Linked DNA regions of Homo sapiens: all the other regions are linked to region 1. Evidence: promoter capture Hi-C in 16 types of primary human blood cells and fetal thymus (Javierre and others, 2016). All regions are on one chromosome and are shown on one strand. Each heading gives the region's core, a stretch centred on a gene start or on the middle of the fragment in contact. The rest is flanking DNA. Distances are from core to core; before and after follow the strand shown.

Region 1 (2,700 bases), core at 113-2,612:
TCCAGAAGGGTAAAAGGCAGGGACTTCAGCCACTTCTATTTATACTATTCTTAACTCTTGAATTCCTTTTGCCTTTTTATCTCAGAGAATCATTACAAGGGCCTTTTGTTATTTTAATGTATCAGCTCTCAGGGAATGTATGATCCTGGGTGGGTCTGGATCCTTTTTTTTTTTTTTGAAGTATACAGATGTCAATGTTAACAGCTAAAACCATTACCACAAGATATCTTCCTCTTAAAAAAAAAAAAGAAAAAGAAAAAGAAAATCTCCTATCTGCTTGTTTGATGGCATAGATTAGGGTAACAATGAGTGCTCCCACTGAGCCGAGAAAGGCATTGTGTTTCTATCTGGAGGAACTCTGTTTGAAGAAGCATCTACATGTTAAATGTATGTAAATAAATAGATTGCTTCCACGGGGTGTTTTGTTCTACTTAGAAATTCTTTTTGATTCAAGTAAATACTAAGGAATGTTATCTCTCAAATTGGAAGCAGTTTAACAAATCTTTAATCTCGCCCTTTTCCCACAGAGATGACTGATTTAGTAAATGTTACTAGTTAAGGAATTAATGCTAAAATTTTACTTTTATAAATTAAAATACTTCAGACACTCAAAAATTTAATTGGCAATCTTAAAACATTTAATCTGAATATTGGGGGAAGAGGAACTCCCTTAGCTTATTTTGCTAAATGTCTTTAGAACCTAGGAAATATTTTGAATATGTGTTTAAAGAAACAGGAAAGTTGGTGGAGGAGTTGCTCCAAGTCATTGTGAATGTATATATTTAGATATTTCCCTATTTACTTTTTATATTTAGTCATCTGTTATCACCATTTCTTTCCTTGTAGGAGCGAATGGATGGATTTGAAAAAAGAGTATTTAGCGCTACAAAAAGCTAGCATGGCTTCTTTAAAAAAAACAATATCCCAAATAAAATCAGAGTCAGAAATGGAAACAGACAGTGGAGTACCTCAAAACACTGGAATGAAAAATGAAAAAAGTAAAGATCACTGATAGTTTTGACAACATTATAATGTACTTATATATGTAAATGCTATCTCTGAGTTGTTATAAGATAAATTTTAATTTTAAAAAACTTGATTATTCTATTTCATTATTAGAACAATTCTTGATTTGTTAAGTTATCCAGATGTGTTACTTACTCTTGATATAAGAATATTTAAAAGGCTCATTTAAAACAATTTTTTAAATAACCTGAGTTTTCTCTACAGTTTTCATCAAGCACATGAGTGCAGAGTTTGCAGACTGAGCAAGTTTGTAGGAATGAAGATTGTAGTTTCTCACCTGTTAATTTCATTCTGTAGTATGCACCACAAGCAGGAACAAGTTAAAGCAGAATTCCTATGAATTCAAAATTAGGATACATTTTAAATTCTCATTTCTTGTAAAAATAAATGTTCACGTTTGAATAATAATGTATTTAAAACACAGTATCCTTTAACTTTTTTTTAACTTTATTGAGTAAAAATTTACTGTTCCTTTGTTCAGGGAGAAGGGGCAAATTTAAAGGCTTTACGAATGCTCTTCTAGCAGTAACAATTTGCATGTAGAATAATAAAACTTTCTGAGTTTTATTCATGGTATTTTGAAATAAGCAGTATGACATATAACCTTTAATTGTTTACTTTAAAATTAAATACGTTTTAAATTATTTAAATCTGCCTCAGGAATTATTCTAAGGTAGTCCTCCTAAGTATTAAATTGTTGTTAAGTGTAAGAGATTTAGTCCTGGTCTTTTTCCTTTTCTAATCAGCAGCCAACAGGGAAGAGTGTCGCACCCAGGAGAAAGTTAATGCAACAGGACCACAGTTCGTGAGTGGAGTGATTGTGAAGATCATTAGCACAGAGCCTCTACCTGGCAGGAAACAAGTCCGGGTAATGATTTTGAGCCCCTAGGGTATTTGTTCCTTTCTTCTCTTATTATTTCCCTGTGTGAAAATGTTTTGAATATGGAAGATAAAACAAATCAAGTTAGAATTTGTTTCCCTATGGTAAACTACTGTACAGTTTTAATTCCATGGTAACTCTTAGGTTTAATTTTGAAGCAAAATCTAGAGGCTGAAATTCCTCACTAAATCTATATGTAAGCACAGTTTAAACATCCTTCTCTATAGGAAAATTGTAACTTTTGCTTATTTTTATTGGCACTGATTTTTTTTGTATTACCTATGTGCTGATTATCTTTAAAATTTTAATTATAGAAAAGTAAAATATTTTTGAAAACCTCTTAAAATTTTTCACGCATGTGCCAAAAAACCCATACTTCTATATAATTTACGCTACAAATTGCTGTACATACAGGTTTATAATTTTTTCGCTTTATACAGTCTATCTTCTGTAGCCTTTTATACCACATTGGTAGCAATACTTTCTATTAGGGAAATTATATACTTTTAGGTGAGAGTACCATATCTTATTTACCCTTACCCTGCCTGTCACCCATTTAAGTGAATCCTTTTCTTTTTAAAAAGTGTGAAATGCTCTGTAACATACCACATATTTTAAGTATTTTCTTATACTGACATTCATCATCACTTAGTATGTTGTTTTGGTTTTACGTAGACTCATCAGTCACAGGTTTTAACTTGAATACCATTGAGGTGGTGGTTTGTTTATCTGTAAGCCCTCCTTATCTGAAATACTGTCCTACAATCCTATAGCTGTCACTAAGAAACAAATTT
Region 2 (2,755 bases), core at 105-2,604, 560 kb before region 1:
CCCATCTTTCTCACCTGAGTGCTTTGTCCATGTGAGATGATCTTTACATTTCACAAAAGAGCTTTCTTCAGTATCGGGGGTGGGGCAGCGGCAGAGGTCTGCATCTTCTCCAAAATCCTATTTGCCTTTGATGCCCACATTGGGATCTGGAGTCTGGCAGGCTCTTGATTTCATCTCTGTTCCCTACTATAATTTTTCAAGTCTTATTTGTGGTCTATGGAAATGTTTGCCTTGTTTTGAGTTGGCCAGGTACTTCCACATATCTTCTTATAAAACTTGTCTAGCATTGCTGTTTGTTTGAAGCAGACAGGATGTGTCATAGCCTGAATTCATTGTGCTGTCCACTGATAACTCTTCCCTTCCTTGTACCTAGTGGCTTTCTCTCCTCCTCAAGCTCACTGACATGAGAGTCTTTCCCTTGAGTCCAAAGAAAGGAGGCATAGGCTGGGTAGATACCACAAAAAAAGTCTCTATGCAGCCTTAAGATAAATCCCTGGAGGTGGAATTTCTGTCTCAAGGATATGAACATTTTAAAGTTTTTGGTATATATTATAAAATTGCCCTCTTGGAGGAGGAGCCAAGATGGCCGAATAGGAACAGCTCCCGTCTACAGCTCCCAGCGTGAGCGACTCAGAAGACGGGTGATTTCTGCATTTCCATCTGAGGTACCGGGTTCATCTCACTAGGGAGTGCCAGACAGTGGGCGCAGGTCAGTGGGTGTGCGCACCGTGCGTGAGCCGAAGCAGGGCGAGGCATTGCCTCACTTGGGAAGTGCAATGGATCAGGGAGTTCCCTTTCCGAGTCAAAGAAAGGGGTGACGGACGCACCTGGAAAATCGGGTCACTCCCACCCGAATATTGCGCTTTTCGGACTGGCATAAAAAACGGCGCACCACGAGATTATATCCCGCACCTCGCTCGGAGGGTCCTACGCCCACGGAGTCCTCTCACTGATTGCTAGCACAGCAGTCTGAGATCAAACTGCAAGGCAGCAGCAAGGCTGGGGGGAGGGGTGCCCGCCATTGCCCAGGCTTCCTTAGGTAAACAAAGCAGCCTGGAAGCTCGAACTGGGTGGAGCCCACCACAGCTCAAGGAGGCCTGCCTGCCTCTGTAGGCTCCACCTCTGGGGGCAGGGCACAGACAAACAAAAAGACAGCAGTAACCTCTGCAGACTTAAATGTCCCTGTCTGACAGCTTTGAAGAGAGCAGTGGATCTCTCAGCATGCAGCTGGAGATCTGAGAATGGGGAGATTGCCTCCTCAAGTGGGTCCCTGACCCCTGACCCCCGAGCAGCCTAACTGGGAGGCACCCCTCAGCAGGGGCACACTGACACCTCACACGGCAGGGTATTCCGACAGACCTGCAGCTGAGGGTCCTGTCTGTTAGAAGGAAAACTAACAAACAGAAAGGACATCCACACCAAAAACCCATCTGTACATCACCATCATCAAAGACCAAAAGTAGATAAAACCACAAAGATGGGGAAAAAACAGAACAGAAAAACGGGAAACCCTAAAACGCATAGCGCTTCTCCTCCTCCAAAGGAATGCAGTTCCTCACCAGCAACAGAACAAAGCTGGATGGAGAATGACTTTGACGAGGTGAGAGAAGAAGGCTTCAGACGATCAAATTACTCTGAGCTACGGGAGGACATTCAAACCAAAGGCAAAAAAGTTGAAAACTTTGAAAAAAATTTAGAAGAATGTATAACTAGAATAACCAATACAGAGAAGTGCTTAAAGGAGCTGATGGAGCTGAAAACCAAGGCTCGAGAACTACGTGAAGAATGCAGAAGCCTCAGGAGCCGATGCGGTCAACTGGAAGAAAGGGTATCAGCAATGGAAGATGAAATGAATGAAATGAAGCGAGAAGGGAAGTTTAGAGAAAAAAGAATAAAAAGAAATGAGCAAAGCCTCCAAGAAATATGGGACTATGTGAAAAGACCAAATCTACGTCTGATTGGTGTACCTGAAAGTGATGGGGAGAATGGAACCAAGCTGGAAAACACTCTGCAGGATATTATCCAGGAGAACTTCCCCAATCTAGCAAGGCAGGCCAACGTTCAGATTCAGGAAATATGGAGAACGCCACAAAGATACTCCTTGAGAAGAGCAATTCCAAGACACATAATTGTCAGATTCACCAAAGTTGAAATGAAGGAAAAAGTGTTAAGGGCGGCCAGAGAGAAAGGTGAGTTACCCTCAAAGGGAAGCCCATCAGACTAACAGCAGATCTCTCAGCAGAAACCCTACAAGCCAGAAGAGAGTGGGGGCCAATATTCAACATTCTTAAAGAAAAGAATTTTCAACCCAGAATTTCATATCCAGTCAAACTAAGATTCATAAGTGAAGGAGAAATAAAATACTTTACAGACAAGCAAATGCTGAGAGATTTTGTCACCACCAGGCCTGCCCTAAAAGAGCTCCTGAAGGAAGCGCTAAACATGGAAAGGAACAACCGGTACCAGCCACTGCAAAATCATGCCAAAATGTAAAGACCATCCAGACTAGGAAGAAACTGCATCAACTAACGAGCAAAATCACCAGCTAACATCATCATGACAGGATCAAATTCACACATAACAATATTAACTTTAAATGTAAATGGACTAAATGCTCCAATTAAAAGACACAGACTGGCAAATTGGATAAAGAGTCAAGACCCATCAGTGTGCTGTATTCAGGAAACCCATCTCACGTGTAGAGACACATATAGGCTCAAAATAAAAGGATGGAGGAAGATCTACCAAGCAAATG
Region 3 (2,700 bases), core at 143-2,642, 550 kb before region 1:
AAAGCTTTATGTTGTCAAACAAAAGAGTTCTTTATTCAAATTGTAATGGCAAAATTTGCCTTTTTAAAAACTCTGATTTTCTTTCAATGTTCATACTTTATAAAGATAAGGTGGGGGGATGTTCATTTACCTAGTTGATTTACACCATAATGTCTATTTTTGCCAAAGAGTTTGTTTCCCCTCTTTACCCCATGAGAGATGGAGAAGGAGTCGGGTAGGTTGGGGATAGGATGTTCAATGAGCACTTTGCACAGGGAAGACAAGCAATATAGAATTTTTATGGACCTCCAAACAATCCTGACCTTTGGCAGTTCCACTCTGACATGAATAAGTGTAAGGCAAGTCATATAGCATTTAACATTTGCCTTCCATTCTATCTATCAAGTTTGCACTACATCCACCATGAAGAGTGAATTCCCTGATGGGCAGCCATTAAGAGAGGCAGTAGAGAGTTTAGAATCAAATTGCCTGGGTTCAGATCTGGTCACTGCTACTTAATGGCTATATAATCTTAGGCAAGTGAGTTAGCTTCTCTAAGCCTCAGTGTCATTATCCATAAAATGGAGATAATGACAACATCTACATTATAAATAATAATGAGGATTAAATGAGATAATCCATAAATAAGCTCATAGCACTTGGCACAGAATAAAAGTTCTAAATTAGGTATTGGCCGTATTATTTGCTATTCCAAGAAACAGCACTCAGAACACGTCTGTTAAGGATGGCTGAGGCTCTGTGTGTCACTCAGAAAAGAGCTGGGGGCAGAGGAGCAACCCCAAGGCCTCTGCCAAAAGCAACTTGAAAGTTAAACTCGTGTTTTTGTCCAATGGCATTGAACAAGAAATAAAAGGTCAACCGCCATTTCCTCTGGAATCTGGCTTGTGATGTGACATCCGGGAATTGGCCCAATTCGTGGGTAGAGACAAACAAATCTTCCTCCCTACAAGCTTACATACCTACCTTTATTCTAACCTTCATCTCTACATAATCCCCATTCCTCAAAAGTTTATAAAATAATTGCCTTGTGCAAATTAGCATTGTTCAAGTGCAATCCTAAATAACACTGACGCATATTTCTATTTCTGCTATTGGTTTTTGTGACAATGATAAAGACATGCTATTTCCTGAAACAATAAGTGACCCTTTGATTTTAAAATTTGGCCTTTTTTTTTTTCCTTTTACAGACCACTTCTTATTTCATAGTGCATTACTATATTATTATTTACAAAACATTCTTTTGTAAATAATACAAAATTATTCTGGAGTGCAGCAGCGCGATCTCGGCTCACTGCAAGCTCCGCCTCCCGGGTTCATGCCATTCTCCTGCCTCAGCCTCCCAAGTAGCTGGGACTACAGGCGCCCGCCACCACGCTCGGCTAATTTTTTTTTTTTTTTTTTTTTTTGGTATTTTTAGTAGAGACAGGGTTTCACGTGTGAGCCAGGATGGTGTCGATCTCCTGACCTCATGATCCGCCCGCCTCGGCCTCCGAAAGTGCTGGGATTACAGGTGTGAGCCACCGTGCCCGGCCTACAAAACATTCTTAATCAATATTTGTTTGATTCAAAATCCTGTGAAGAATAAATTTAAGGCTCCCATAATTTCAGTCCTACATGTATTCCACTGTACATAATTTGTTTCAAACAAAATGGAAAAATCCCCATCCCCACAAGCTCGTCACTCTTTCTAAGTGAGAATGGGTCATTTCTTCTGTATCCTTAAACAGTTCAGAGACGAAAAATCAAGGAGCATAGGAAATGAAGCCTGTCGCACAATTAGGATCCAGTTCATACTCACTGGGACTACTTGGAGAATTTTCTGAAATCCCTTGTCTCAAGCTTCACTTCTATCCCTTCATTTCTGCTGCACACCACCTAAATTGAAGTTGCCTAGATATTCATTCTGTAAATTATTCATTCTCTCTCTCTCTCAGTATGAGTAGCCTGGCAATGCCAGACAAAAAGAAAAAAAAAGTCTTCAGAAATACTATGAATGTTTTAGTACAACCAAGCAAGCACTTTGATTTATTCATTGATTCAAAAAAGATTAATTAAGTAACCTCTATCTTTCAGGCATTGTGCTAGATATTGCTTATATAGTGATTAATAGGACAGAAGTAGTCCTACTCTTGTGAGGCTTACCACTTAGTGAAAGAATAAGACATGAGAAAAACAAACACACACACACACACATATATAATTACAGATTGCAGTGATAAAAAAAGAAAAGAGGGACATCTATGATTATAACAAGGAAGCACCCAATTCATGCTGTGGGATCAGAGACAACTTCTCTAAAATAGGATATGCAATTTAAGGCCTAAGGGATGTACAGGAGTTAGCTAGGTGAAGATTTGGGGGAAGTTATTCTAAGCAGAACATATGCAGTGTTCCTAGAACAACAAAGAGCTTGGCGCATTAAGAAATTGAGAAAGTCCAATGTGGTGGAGCTTAGTGAGCAGTGGGGGGAAGATCATCTAAGATGGACTCAGCATCATATAACTTCTCTGGAGTTTTGTTAAAAATCCAGAATGTCTAACTCAAAAAAGCATTTTGCAATATATTATAATTTACAATGGAAATTTGAATTTCAAGTTCCAAGCAAAATTATACAAATAAGCATCTTCTTGGCATCAACCTGGCATCTTCCACAGTCTCCCACATACCACTCCCCTACACCCTGTCCCTGCTAAATAATGG
Region 4 (2,700 bases), core at 36-2,535, 530 kb before region 1:
CTTCCCAAAGTGCTGGGATTACAAGCAAGAGCCACTGTGCCTGGCCTTGAGATTTTTCAATAATTTGAATTGTTCCCAAATATAACAGATTGATTTGTGAGGTGGTGAACTCACGTCTGTAAAAAATGTCAAGCAGCATTTAGATGCCAACCTATCAGGGATGCTAGAGATACACACTTCCAACTGGAAGTGGCTTTTAAGATCCCAGATATTTTTTAAATTCTAGAATGTGTCTCAAATGAAATGCAATTTGTAAAATCCTAACTGGCGCTTCTCAAACTTTAGTGTGCATAAAATCACCTAGAAAACTGGTTAAAACACACATTCAGGGCCCCACCCCTCAGATATTCTGATTCATTAAGTCTGAGGTGAGCCCCAAAATTTGCTTTTCTAATAAGCTCGCAAATGATGCTGATTCTGTTGGTCCAGGAACTATGCTTTGAATAGCCCTGCAAATCGTAATTTTTTATTCGATATTTGTAAAGAGATGAAAGAAAATTAAAAGGCTTGGCAAGCAAAAAGAAATGAAAAGTAATGTGTACTCGGTGTTCATATAGGAAATAAAACAGTGTAATGACTACTTCGAAGGAAAAAAATTCTTCCAAAACGTAGGCCACATCTACCCAACAGTATGCAAACATTTGGAGAGGAAATTAATTGGTACATATGGCTGTAGGTGTTCATTTCTAACTAAACTAAACAGTCCATCAAAGCCTTTCTTTCAGACATTTAATTAAGTAATTCTGAGGAGATTATGTCATTTAAATATTTCTTGTCTGGGGGTCAGGGACCCACTTAGGTTCAGGTATCTCTTCTGCTCATCTCTAAATCCTTGTTTAGCAACTCCACCCAGACCATTAACAAAATCCAGGGTAAGCTTGTCAGTTAGGAGTAAAGGAGAGCTGTTTGGGACAAATAGTATAATTCAGTTTGTAAATGTCTTTACCCTTGAAGTGGAGATCTGGGCAATCATCTTAAAACGATAAGCTCCCTAATGGCAAGTTCAAAGGAAATCTTTATCCATCCCTCAAGGCTCATCTTAAATTGCACTCCCTCATTAATTCTTTCCTGATTCCATCAACAGACTGTAAGCACCAAATCCTTATCTCACTGGCAGATCTCTTAAGATATAACCTACTAATTCCGAACTGTAATGTTATTTGTTGTATTAGTGTGGATCCAATCACACAGTGGGTTACATAGAAGAAGTATAATATAAAGAATTATTAAACTCTGATAAATGAATATACAGAAAAAAGGACAGTAAAGGAAAACTATAAGGAACCCTAGGGCTGAATAAGAGTATCAAGGAAGAACAAAGTTGTAAGGGGGCCCCCTCCCCAGACCTGGGGTTCAGACCTCATTGGAGAAGGTATAGTTTAGCCTGATAACTGAAACAGAAAAGTTCACTGGTTTGCATTAGCCCGAGCTGGTCTGGGGTCACTAGGAGAGCAGGAAGCATCCCTCCAGAGTGCAGCCAGAGCTCAGCAGATCAGAAGCCAGATGCATGGTTATACACAGGTGGTGGGAATCCAGGGAGCAGGCAAGCCACAGAGCCCAAATAAAGAGTAATGTCTCAGGGGAAAACTCTCAGGCTGTTGACAATCCACATGCAGGCTTGCACAGGGAATTGGGGCATTCATGTGTTCAGGAAGACTTTGGGACACCAGTTTCCATGCCAAGGGGTCCATGGGAAGCTTATTGCCAGGATAGGCTGAAACTACAAGGTTACCTAGTGACTGCATATTCTAGGAATGTGGCCAAAACAGAGTTCCACCAAATGTCTTCAAACCCACTCCACCAACTTGCCATGAGCAGCCAGAAACAGCAGGAGACATCTTTCCAACAGCCTCTACTAAGAAAACTTAGCATTATGCTCACTGTAAGGAGGAGACACTTAAAAGAATTCTGCCTATTATCAAAGGGCATATATTGTGGAGTGAATCTGGAGCTGAGAGGCAATAAACTGATGGTTGACATGTATGTGTTATTACAAGATTGTTGATTCTTTTAGGATTAAAGACTGGATTTCATCTCTGTAGTCTCCGTGGTACCTAGGTCGTCTTATAACAAACTATTCCTCAGTAAATATTGAGAACTCCTGGCTTTTTTTTTTTCAGAAACTGATAAGCTGATCCTAAAATTTATATGGAAATGTAATGGACCCAACATAGCCAAAGCAACATTTGAAAAAACAAAGTTTGAGGACTTGCATTTTCTGACATCAAAACTTACTACAAAGCTACATTAATCAAGACAATATGGGACTGGCATAAGGGTAGAAATATAGATAAGTAGAAAAGAACGGAGATCCCAGGAATAAATCATTAAATTTATGGTTAATTGATTTTTTAACATAGGTGCCAAGACAGTTCAATGGAGGAGGAATATATTTTCAACAAATAATGCCAGAACAACTCTCTACCCATATGCAAAAGAATGAATTTGAACCCCTATATCATACCATACACAAAAATTCAGGCTAAATGGATCATATATCTAAATGGAAGAGTGAAAACTATAAAACTCTTAGAAGAAGAGATTGGAGTAAATCTTTATGACTTTACATTAGGCAGTGGTACCTTAGCTATAACATCAAAATTCAAAATCTTTGTGCCTTAAAGGACATCATCAAGAATATAAAATGACAGCCCACAAATGAGAGAAAATATTTATATATCTGATAAGGGATTTATATCC
Region 5 (2,700 bases), core at 62-2,561, 600 kb before region 1:
TAAAACAATATGGTATTGACACAAGAATGACAAATATATCTTTGGAATAGAACAGAGATCCAAAAGACATTCATGTATGGACAGCTGATTTATAACAAAGACAGCACTGCTAAACAGCATGGAAAGGATGATCATTTCAACAACTGGTGCCAAGACAATTGGGTGCCCATGTGAAGAAAAAATAAAATTTGGCCTTTACCTCACACCATATACAAAAATATGAAAGGCAAATCACATAGCTTCTAAAAAACTATATTAGAAAATATATTTATGACCTTGCGGGAGGGGAAGACTTCTTAAACAAAACAGAAAAACCATGAAAGAAAGGGTTGATAAACCAGACTACATTAAACTTAGTCTACATGAAAGATCATGAAAGAAAGAGTTGGTATATTGAAAGAAAGAGTTGGTATAAAGAAAGAGTTGGTTAAAGTTCAAAACTTCCTTTTTTTAAAAAGACACCGTAAGAGTCTCAGGTCCACAACAAATCAATGGATCAATGAGACAAAGTCAATGCAATAGTCATGTGGGCAGCAGACTTAAAACAAGTGCTTCAGGCCGGGCACGGTGCCTCATGCCTGTAATCCCAGCATTTTAGGAGGCCGAGGCAGGTGGATCAATTGAGGTTGGGACTTCGCGACCAGCCTGACCAACATGGAGAAACCCCATCTCTACAAAAAATACAAAAGTAGCTGGGCCTGGTGGTGCATGCCTGTAATCCCAGCTACTCAGGAGGCTGAGGCAGGAAAATCACTTGAACCCAGGAGGCGGAGGTTGTGGTGAGCCGAGATCGTGCCACTGCACTGCAGCCTGGGCAACAAGAGTGCAACTCTGCCTCAAAAAAAAAAAAATGCTTCACAATAGAGGGTATCTAAATGACTGGAAAATATGAAAGGTGTTCAATGTCATTAGTAAAAGGGGAACAGAAATTGAAGCCATTGTGAGATACTACAGTAACCAATGAGAATGGCCAGAATGAAAAAGTCAAATACTATTAGTATTTGAAAGAATGTGGAACAGTGGGAACTCTTAACACTAATAACAGGAGTAATGTCAGTAGAAATAATATGAAAGACAATATAACTATCTTTTAAAATGGAAGATATGTATGCTTTTTGACCCACTATTTCCACTTATATAACTAACAATAATGTATGCACATGTGCTTCAAGAAACATGTTCAAGAATGTTTATGGCAACATTATTCATGATATCAAAAAACTGGAAACAGCACAAATGTCAACCAGTAAATGGAAAATGATAAATTACAGTATGTTCATACAATGAAATTCTCAAATTTTTTATTTTCTTTTTAGAGCGGGTTTTCGCCATGTTGCCTAGGCTTGTCTCAAACTCCTGAGCTCAAAGAATCCGCTCACCTGGGCCTCCCAAAGTGCTGAGATTACAGATGTGAGCCACCACCCCCGGCCACCTATGAGCCACCACGCCCAGCCAGGTCCAGCCTGGCCACCATGGTGAAACCCCATCTCTACAAAAAACACAAAAATTAGCCAGGCATGGAGGTGCATGCCTGTAATCCCAGCTACTCAGGAGGCTAAGGCTGGAGAATCACTTGAACCTGGGAGGTGGAGGTTGTAGTGAGCTGAGATCTCGACATTGCACTCCAGCCTGGGTGACAGAGTGAGACTCCATCACAAAAAAAAAAAAGCAAAGATATGACTACAATATTAGTCAGGATATTAGTTAACTTTAGGAGGCATACAGGGGGCAATGACTGAGAGGAAGTTTGGAAGGACACTTCTGAGAGGGTGATAATACTAAATCTTGACTTGAGTGAGTTCCATGGGTTTAGTTTGTAACAAATCATTAAGCTATATTTTTTTCTTCTTTTTGAGACGGAGTCTCACTCTGTCGCCCAGGCTGGAGTGCGGTGGCACGATCTCGGCTCACTGCAACCTCCGCATCCGGGGTTCAAGCAATTCTCTGCCTCAGCCTCCCAAGTAGCTGGGAATACAGGCATCTGCCACCATGCTGGCTAATTTTTTTGTGTTTTTAGTAGAGACGGGGTTTCACCATGTTGGCCAGGCTGGTCTTGAACTCCTGACCTCTTGATCCATCCACCTCGGCCTCCCAAAGTGCTGGGATTACAGGCGTGAGCCACTGTGCCCGGCCTCATTAAGCTATATTTTTGTTCTGTGGACTATTCTGTATGCATGTTATATTTTACAGTTTAAAAGTATTTTTAAATTACTTTCTACATTAGAATTGAAACTGAAATTCAAAATACATATGTATAGCTATTTGAGATTGCAATGATGTGCTTGAAATGAGGAAAAAATACTGACATTACAGGGTTAGCTTTGCAGAATACTTGCCAAACAATTGAGACAAGCAAGTAATAGTAATAATAGCAAATATCATAATAATAATGGCTAAGACTTACAGCACTTACTATGTGTCAGTCACTATTCCAAACCATTTACATACATTAACTCATTTATTCTTATAAGTCTTGTAAACATATAGAACAGAAATATCTTAATAGATATCCCTTCTTCTAATCTGAATCATAGAAGTGCTATTTGTGATGAAATACAAAGCACAAGAAAAACAGCTCTGAGTGTAATAGTCACCACTGCTCCAAGGGTGCAACCTTTCCTGAAGTCATGGGTCACAACAAACAAACAAAAACACCTGTCAAGGAGTTTATGCCAGTAAATCAAGAAGAGATTAGATATT

Evidence for each region. Contacts are between HindIII fragments. The CHiCAGO score rates a contact against its expected background, and 5 or more counts as called.
Region 2: a fragment that was not itself captured here is called in contact with the fragment with the promoter of MIR302CHG in region 1 in 1 of 17 cell types (fetal thymus); the score reaches 5.1 in fetal thymus.
Region 3: a fragment that was not itself captured here is called in contact with the fragment with the promoter of MIR302CHG in region 1 in 8 of 17 cell types (neutrophils, naive B cells, naive CD8 T cells and 5 more); the score reaches 17.5 in neutrophils.
Region 4: a fragment that was not itself captured here is called in contact with the fragment with the promoter of MIR302CHG in region 1 in 6 of 17 cell types (total B cells, naive CD8 T cells, naive B cells and 3 more); the score reaches 10.1 in total B cells.
Region 5: a fragment that was not itself captured here is called in contact with the fragment with the promoter of MIR302CHG in region 1 in 1 of 17 cell types (neutrophils); the score reaches 6.5 in neutrophils.

The regions. Positions count from the first base shown.
Region 1 is chr4:112,648,689-112,651,388 of GRCh38, forward strand. It overlaps MIR302CHG (miR-302/367 cluster host gene), which reads right to left and starts at 1,363. Exons shown (of 3, transcript NR_146092.1): 1 at 1,304-1,363. LARP7 (La ribonucleoprotein 7, transcriptional regulator) reads left to right here. Exons shown (of 13, transcript NM_016648.4): 9 at 847-998; 10 at 1,773-1,894. RefSeq lists an enhancer at 183-905. The HindIII fragment of the contact is 6,288 bases long and covers 1-2,700 here.
Region 2 is chr4:112,085,897-112,088,651 of GRCh38, forward strand. The region is part of intron 1 of LINC02945 (long intergenic non-protein coding RNA 2945); the gene reads right to left. Among named protein-coding and RNA genes, the nearest start is that of LINC02945, 25 kb to the right of the region's middle. RefSeq lists an enhancer at 871-1,439. The HindIII fragment of the contact is 5,743 bases long and covers 1-2,755 here.
Region 3 is chr4:112,102,311-112,105,010 of GRCh38, forward strand. The region is part of intron 1 of LINC02945 (long intergenic non-protein coding RNA 2945); the gene reads right to left. Among named protein-coding and RNA genes, the nearest start is that of LINC02945, 8.6 kb to the right of the region's middle. The HindIII fragment of the contact is 889 bases long and covers 949-1,837 here.
Region 4 is chr4:112,122,534-112,125,233 of GRCh38, forward strand. All of the region lies in intron 2 of LOC105377370 (a long non-coding RNA gene), which reads right to left. Among named protein-coding and RNA genes, the nearest start is that of LINC02945, 12 kb to the left of the region's middle. The HindIII fragment of the contact is 820 bases long and covers 876-1,695 here.
Region 5 is chr4:112,048,447-112,051,146 of GRCh38, forward strand. All of the region lies in intron 1 of LINC02945 (long intergenic non-protein coding RNA 2945), which reads right to left. Among named protein-coding and RNA genes, the nearest start is that of LINC02945, 62 kb to the right of the region's middle. RefSeq lists a silencer at 869-948. The HindIII fragment of the contact is 8,584 bases long and covers 1-2,700 here.